Regions from separate parts of the Homo sapiens genome. Here region 1 is linked to region 2. Evidence: promoter capture Hi-C in 16 types of primary human blood cells and fetal thymus (Javierre and others, 2016). All regions are on one chromosome and are shown on one strand. Each heading gives the region's core, a stretch centred on a gene start or on the middle of the fragment in contact. The rest is flanking DNA. Distances are from core to core; before and after follow the strand shown.

What was found. The method cuts DNA at HindIII sites, captures the fragments that hold promoters and counts their contacts. A CHiCAGO score of 5 or more calls a contact.
Region 1: a contact is called between a fragment that was not itself captured here and the fragment with the promoter of SNRK in region 2, in 5 of 17 cell types (total CD8 T cells, non-activated CD4 T cells, naive CD8 T cells and 2 more). The highest score is 8.8, in total CD8 T cells.

The regions. Positions count from the first base shown.
Region 1 is chr3:43,333,374-43,336,908 of GRCh38, forward strand. All of the region lies in intron 4 of SNRK (SNF related kinase), which reads left to right. Among named protein-coding and RNA genes, the nearest start is that of SNRK-AS1, 17 kb to the right of the region's middle. The HindIII fragment of the contact is 1,883 bases long and covers 324-2,206 here.
Region 2 is chr3:43,285,124-43,288,630 of GRCh38, forward strand. It overlaps SNRK (SNF related kinase), which reads left to right and starts at 1,417. Exons shown (of 7, transcript NM_017719.5): 1 at 1,417-1,552. RefSeq lists an enhancer at 1,157-1,657 and silencers at 1,262-1,661, 1,902-1,951. The HindIII fragment of the contact is 7,817 bases long and covers 1-3,507 here.

The sequences.
Region 1 (3,535 bases), core at 15-2,514, 48 kb after region 2:
AAAAAAAAAAAAAAGAACTTAGGTATTGAAACTCTGGATTCAAATATTGACTTCTCCATTTACTAATGATGTCAGAGTGGTAGAAACTACCATATAGGGTTATTGTGAAAATTAAGTGAATTAATATGTGTAAAGCTCTTAGCTCGGTCCTTAGCACATAGGAAACTATGAATATTGATGATGATTATTTTTATGACGTTACTGTTAACTATTCTCTACCCCAAGAAGCAGGGCAGTTGTCTGGGGGCATACGTTGTCTGCATGTTGGATGTTTGTGATGCATGTTGTAATTCAAGGAGTATTTCCACAGCTTCTACTGAAAAAGCTTATTTTTATATTGATATATATATCATTCAAATAAGTATACAATGTATATGTAGTAAAATGAGGGCCTGTGTACCCATTATCTAGCTTAAGAAATAGAACAGTTCCTAGTATCTTAGTAGCTGTCTGTGTCTCCCTCCTAGAAGGATTATTTTTAATAATTATTGAGGCTGGGCGCAGTGGCTCACACCTGTAATCCCAGCACTTAAGGAGGCCGAGACAGGCAGATCACAAGATCAGGAGTTCGAGACCAGCCTGATCAACATGGTGAAACCCTGTCTCTACTAAAAATACAAAACTTAGCCGGGCATGGTGGCTGGCGCCTGTAATCCCAGCTACTCAGGAGGCTGAGGCAGGAGAATCACTTGAACCCAGGAGGTGGAGGTTGCAGTGAGCTGAGATCATGCCACTGCACTCCAGCCTGGGCGACAGAGTGAGACTCTGTCTCAAAAAACTAATAATTATTATTGGGGCCAGGCATGGTGGCTCGTTCCTGTAATCTCAGCACTTTGGGAGGCCAAGATGGAAGGATCATTTGTGCCCAGGAGTTCAAGACCAGCCTGGGCAACATAGGGAGGCCCTGTCTCTACTAAACAAACAAGCAAAAAGAAAAATTAGCCAGTTACGGTGGCTCACGCCTGTGGTCTCAGCTACTGGAGAGGCTGAGGTGGGAGGATGGCATGGGCCTAGAGGGTCGAGGATACGGTGAGCTGCGATTGCACCACTGCACTCCAGTCTGGGTAACAGAGTAAGACCCTGTCTCAAAAAAAAAAAAAATTATTGGGACTATTTAGGTTTTTAAAATTTTTTCCTATTTCAGTTTTGCTAAGCTGTGTTTTTTAAGGGACATGTCTGCTTTATATAATTTTTCAAATGTATTAACCTCAAGTATTTATATTATCTTTTTTTTTTTTTGAGATGGAGTCTAGTGGTGTTCCCAGGCTGGAGTGCAGTGGCACAGTCTCGGCTCACTTCAGCCTCCACCTCCTGGGTTCAAGCGATTCTCCTGCTTCAGCCTCCCAGTTAGCTGGGACTAGAGGTGTGTGCCACCGTGCCCAGCTAATGTTTGTATTTTTAGTAAAGGCAAGGTTTTAACATGTTGGCCGGGATGGTCTCAATCTCTTAACCTCGTGATCCGCCTGCCTCGGCCTCCCAAAGTGCTGGGATTACAGGCATGAGCCACCACGCCCAGCCTATAATATCTTTTAGTTATATTTTTTAAGTCTATAAGAAGTGTGGATATATTGTCCTTTTTAATTTCAATAGTGATAATTTGTGCCTTATCTTTTTTTTGTCTTGATCAGTTTTGCCAGAAGTTTGTTATTTTATTAGTCTTTTTCTAAGAACTACCTTTTGCTTTTATTAACAATTATAATTTTTGTTTTATGTTTTATTAATTTTCTTTTCTCTTGTCTGTAGTATTTCGTGCCACTCACTTCCATGGGCTAATTCTGTTCTTCCTCTTTCTGTTGTTGGATACTTAGCTCACAAATTTCCCTTTTCTGTTGTAATAATTTAAGGGTATAAATTGCCTACTGATACCATTTTAGCTGCATCCCACTAGTTTTGATTTATAGTCCTTTTGTTATTCAGTTCTAATAAGTATTTTCTAGTTTGTGTTGATTTATTTCATGTGTGAGTTGTTTACAGGGGTGTTTTACATTTCCAAATGTATGGCGTTTTTCTAATTAGCTTTTTATTGATTTCTAACTTAATTGTGTTGTGGTCCAATAATAATAGCCTCTATGGTACCAGTGTTGTTTTTGTTTTTTTGTTTTTTCAAATTGCTGAGACTTGCTTATGGCCTAGCATAAGGTCTTTTTGTTCTGGAAAATAGTGTATATTTTCCAGTTTTGGAGTTCTGCATAAATCCTTAAGATCAAGCTTTTTTATTATGCTGTTCAAAATTATTTGCATCCTGTATGAGTTTTTCTTTCTCCTACTGGATCTATCAGTTACTGAGGTATTCTTCCACTGTGATGGTGGATTTGTTTTTTTTCTTGGAGCTCTGTCAGTTTTTGCTTTGAGTGTTTTGAGGTAATGTTATTAGGTGCAAACAAGTTGAAAAGTGTCGTATCTTCCCATTCTATCAATTTGTATCAATGAGGTAATGGCCCTCTTTAGTACTGCTTTTTTGCCTTAAAGTCAGTCTGTGTTGTCTAATTTCAGCCACACCAGTCTTCTGTTGGCTACCATTTGTGTGCTGTAGAGTTTTTCTTTCTTTTCTTAAACTTCCCATTGTCCTGGTTTTAAATACATCTTTTTTTAACAGGCTGGAGCCGAGTTTTTCTTTAATCCCATCTGATCATTTTTGTGTTTTAAATGGAGAGTTTATTCCATTTACATTTATTGTAGTCACTGATAGATGTAGATCTATTTATGCCATCTTTTTATATGTTTTATGTTTGTCCTACTTCAGTTTTTTTTTTCTTTTTACCCCATTCTTTGGAGTTGATGGAGGATTCCTTTCCTTTCCCTTCCCCTTCATTCTTTCTCTTTTTCTTTCTTTCTTCCCTCCCTCCCTTTCCTTCCTCCCCTCTCTCCTTCCCTTTCCTCCCCTCCTTACCCTCCCTCCACCCTCTCTCCCTTGCTCTCTCCCTCCCTTGCTCTCTCCCTCTGTCCGCCTTCCCTCCCTCTCTTTCTTTTCTTAGACAGGGTCTTGCTTTGTTGCCCAGGCTGGAATACAGTGGTAAAATCATACATAGCTCACTGCAGCCTTCAACTCCTGGGCTCAAGTGATTGTCCTGCCTCAGTCTCCTGAGTAGCTAGGACTACAGGTGTGTGCCACCATGCCTGGCTAATATTTAAACTTTTTGTAGAGACCGGGTCTCACTATGTTGCCCAGACTGTTCTTGAACTCATGGTCTCAAGAGATCCTCCAGCCTCTGCCTCCCGAAGTGCTGGGATTATAGACATGAGCTACCACACCCTGCCAAGGTTTTTCTTTTTCCCCTCATTTGACTTTCCCCCTGAATTAGCTAGGAAGTTATAGTCTGTTATTTTAGTGATTTTTCTACCTGTTTTAACACAGATACACATTTTTGTTTGTTTGTTTTGGTTTTGGTTTTTTTCGAGACGGAGTCTCGCTCTGTTGCCCAGGCCGGAGTGCAGTGGTGTGATCTCGGCTTGCTGCAAGCTCTGCCTCCCAGGTTCAAGTGATTCTCCTGCCTCAAGCCTCCCAAGTAGCTGAGACTACAGGCGCCCGCCATCA
Region 2 (3,507 bases), core at 167-2,666:
GAGAAAAGTGCATGGTCTTCCTGATTTCTAGCAACAAAAGGACAAATTCTACAAATCCAAGTTAGGAGCTCTTGCTTAATATGCTGCTACAGTTACGATTTCCATGTCAAAATGAGATGACTCTTTTATGGTCTTTTCAGGTCAGAGTGATCCCAGGTGGGACCCTAAGGCGCAGAGGCCTAATCTGAGGCTTTCCCTGGTGCTCTCCCACCACCTGATGCAAGGGTATTAGGGTAACTGGGAGTCCCCTTGATCAGAAAACCCTATGTTATTACCCTAAGAATCAAACTGTTTGCACCTCCCAACAATCCACTCCTGCTTCCCAATCATCTTCAGACATGCAAAGTTGATGCATAGAAGCTAAAAGGCTTTTGACATTTGCAGGTCAACAGAGATTTGCTAAAACCATCTAGATTTCTCTTCGCAGTCCAGTCAATTCAACCAAGCCTGCAGCATCTCCGCAGCTCTTCTGGCTTGTGTCCTTCCTTGCTAGGGGTCCTTTCTTGGGGAAGGGTGGACACAACGTGGGAACAGAAGGGGAAAAGCAGGTTGAAGAAATCTGGCGTCTGGTTTGTTGGTGTTCCCTTCCAGGAACCCTGAAGAGCTGGTCTCTATTGCATGCCATGCTTCCAGGGGTGGGAGTCGGGAGTCCCCTCCCACCCTCTGCGGCCATCCCTAAGCTCCCTTCCAGAGCAACCTGGCCTGGCGACCATACCACTGAACCATCAAGGGCTATGGTTAATGCCCGGCGTGTTTTGAATCTCTGACTTCACGTGCTTTGATGTGTCCCCACGACCGTTTACTTTTCTATGCTGTTGCCAGAGGCTGCCTAGCAGGGCCTGTGTCTCCCGCTGACCTTTAAGGCCAGCACTGCATTCAGATGTTGGGCTTTTCCAATTTTGCTTAAATAACAACAAAATCAACCGAATTTTTTCAAATTAGAGTCCCAGGGAGAAGAAACTACAGAGAAAAAAATCATATTATGTATATATATGTATATACATATGTGCATGTGTGTATGTATATGTATTTTTACAATTTTTTTATCCTTGTTTAAACCTGGGCGGGAACCAAAGAGTAAAGCGCGTGCGGCTCCCTGCCCCCTGCCGCCAAGACGCAGTCCTGTACAGACGCGGTCCCTTCCCTCCGATTTCCCCTGACAGCTCGCGCTACTTTTTCCCGGCCATTGTTCCGTGTCCCTGGTGCTTCCTCCTCCCCCGTCCTCCATCCTCCTTGGGCGCCTTGCCCGCTTTGTCCCGCCAGCCGCCTCAGCCCCGACTCGCCGGGGTCAGAAAGCCGCCAGGATGCCCTCCAGCAGCCCGCGCGCCGGCCGCAGGTGCGCGCCGCCCCGCCCTGCCCTTCCCGCGGCCCCGCCCCAGCGCTGACGTCACAGTGACGCGCAGCCCGCGCAGGCGCAGCTACCCGGCACCCCCTCCCCGCGGCCGGCAGCCCGCTCGGTATTATGATTAGCGCTGGGTGCGGGGTTTCGGCGGCCGGGAGGGAGTTGTCGGCGCCGCGGCCGCTGCGGACGGACGCTCGCCTGCCGGCTGAGGTAGGGGCGAGCGCGGAGCGCGGCGGGGCGCGGCGGCCGTAGGCAGGGGTGCGGGGCCGGCCTCCGCCGCCTCAGTAGCCTCCGCTGTTGCCGGGCTGGGCGCCCGGGCCGGGGCGCTCGCCGCAGGCGGAAAGTAAGTTGCGCTCTCGGCGCCGGCCGCAGCGCGCGGCCCGGGAGGACGCGGGGCCCGGGCTGCGGTGGCCCGGACCCCGCGGCGCGGCCTGGCGGCGGGGCGGCGGCGGGGCCCGGCGGGAGCCGTCACTGCGGCGGCGGCCGCGGTCGCCTGGAGGCCCTGCCCTTGCGGCCGCGGCGGGATTGCGGCACCTCGGAAGGCGCCCGCATCCCCGCGCCCCGCCCCGGAGCGGGCCGAGTGCGGCGCCCGCGGGGCCCCGCGCCCTGGGCGCTTGGTAGGGTGTGTGTTCTTTGAATGCGTTTTCCCCTTTCAGAAGACTGTAGAAATCCGGCCTCAGCAAAAGGGTTCCGTGGTCAAACTGCTTTACAATAGAGTGGGGATGTTGTCTGTAGAGAAAGGGCAAAGGGGTAAGGAAAGAGGAGCAGTGCCATTCCCGAGGGAGAGCTAGAATTTTTGCAGACTGGGAGACTGGGAAATCTACGTTCTTTTCCATAGTCATCGCCTGTTGATTTCTTTCTGGTCCATTTTACAGGGACCTTCCTGCCTTTTACTTGGACTTGGGTTGCAGGAAAGTGGCAGCCTTTTATCTTCGGGGTTCTTGGAGCTGTGCTATTTGTAACTGTTGGATCGCATACAGTCCAGTAGTTTCATAGGGAGTTTCAGGCTTTGGGGAGAATTTAGCAGTGGAGTTCCTAAATCTATAGAGGTCTGAGGATATGGGACCTTTCAAACTGTCATGTTACTTTCCACCCCCCTTCCCTTTAATTATGTGCATTCTTAAAGTCTTAGGAACCGTGGTAAAGTTGACTTAATGCCTTAAACATTTTGTCAGGTTTTAAGGTGAAGCATGGCTTGCAAGTGTTGGACATCCTGTTGAATCTCCACCAAGTTCCTATCAAACATGAAATGCCTGAGTTTGGGCTCCTTGTATGGGATTGGAGCACTATGTCCCAAACCAGTCTTTAACTTATCAGAATATATACAGCAGTGTACTTTAAAGCCCGGGTTGTCAAGGCTTATGTAATCAGTTTGTTAATTTATAATCTCGTTACATTGCTTTCCAGATTTATAAAATAATTCCCTTAAGGAAATCTGTCCTCAACGTCTGCTTAAATATTTCTCTTGGAATTGGATTCTTGAAGAGGAATGTACTGTACAAGTGATGATTAAAGCATACTAATTAGACAAGTTTCTTTTTTTAAAGAACACCAAATACCAAATTTTTAATCTGATTATCTGTGTAATTGTCCTTGAGAGGAGAACAGGTGGACATTCCCATTTTACAGAACTAGAAATGAGAGAAATTACATGACATTTCCAAGGTCACATATTGAAGCAGTGTAGAAAGTCAGGTGCACAGTGCTAACTTTTTATAATACTCTCATCCTGAAGGCTTTTCAGGCAGGAAACTTTCAGTGCCACCTTTCAATTTTTTTTTAAATTTGTATAATCAGTTTTTAATTGTTCATTTTGTGCACAAAAATTACTCTCACCGTATTTTTTAATAATTCTGAGTATTTTTTTCTGTTTTACTGCAGTAAGATCCATTAGTCTAAAACATGCTAGAACTCAGAAGTTGTACTAATTTTATTTTTCTAGACCAGAAGTATAGGTTGGGTCTTTATGGTTTAGATTTAATCACATAATCCTAAAAGAAAGGCTTTTAAATGTCCTTATTAAAATTGAAGGGCTTTCGTGATATTTTTACTGGTCACAGGAAATACTGTTCATCTGAACTTCACTGTGAGTACTTCCCTCATACAGAAAGTGAAACCAAATAGAAAAATATTTATTTCTGGAGATACTGAGCAGCCATGGTTCT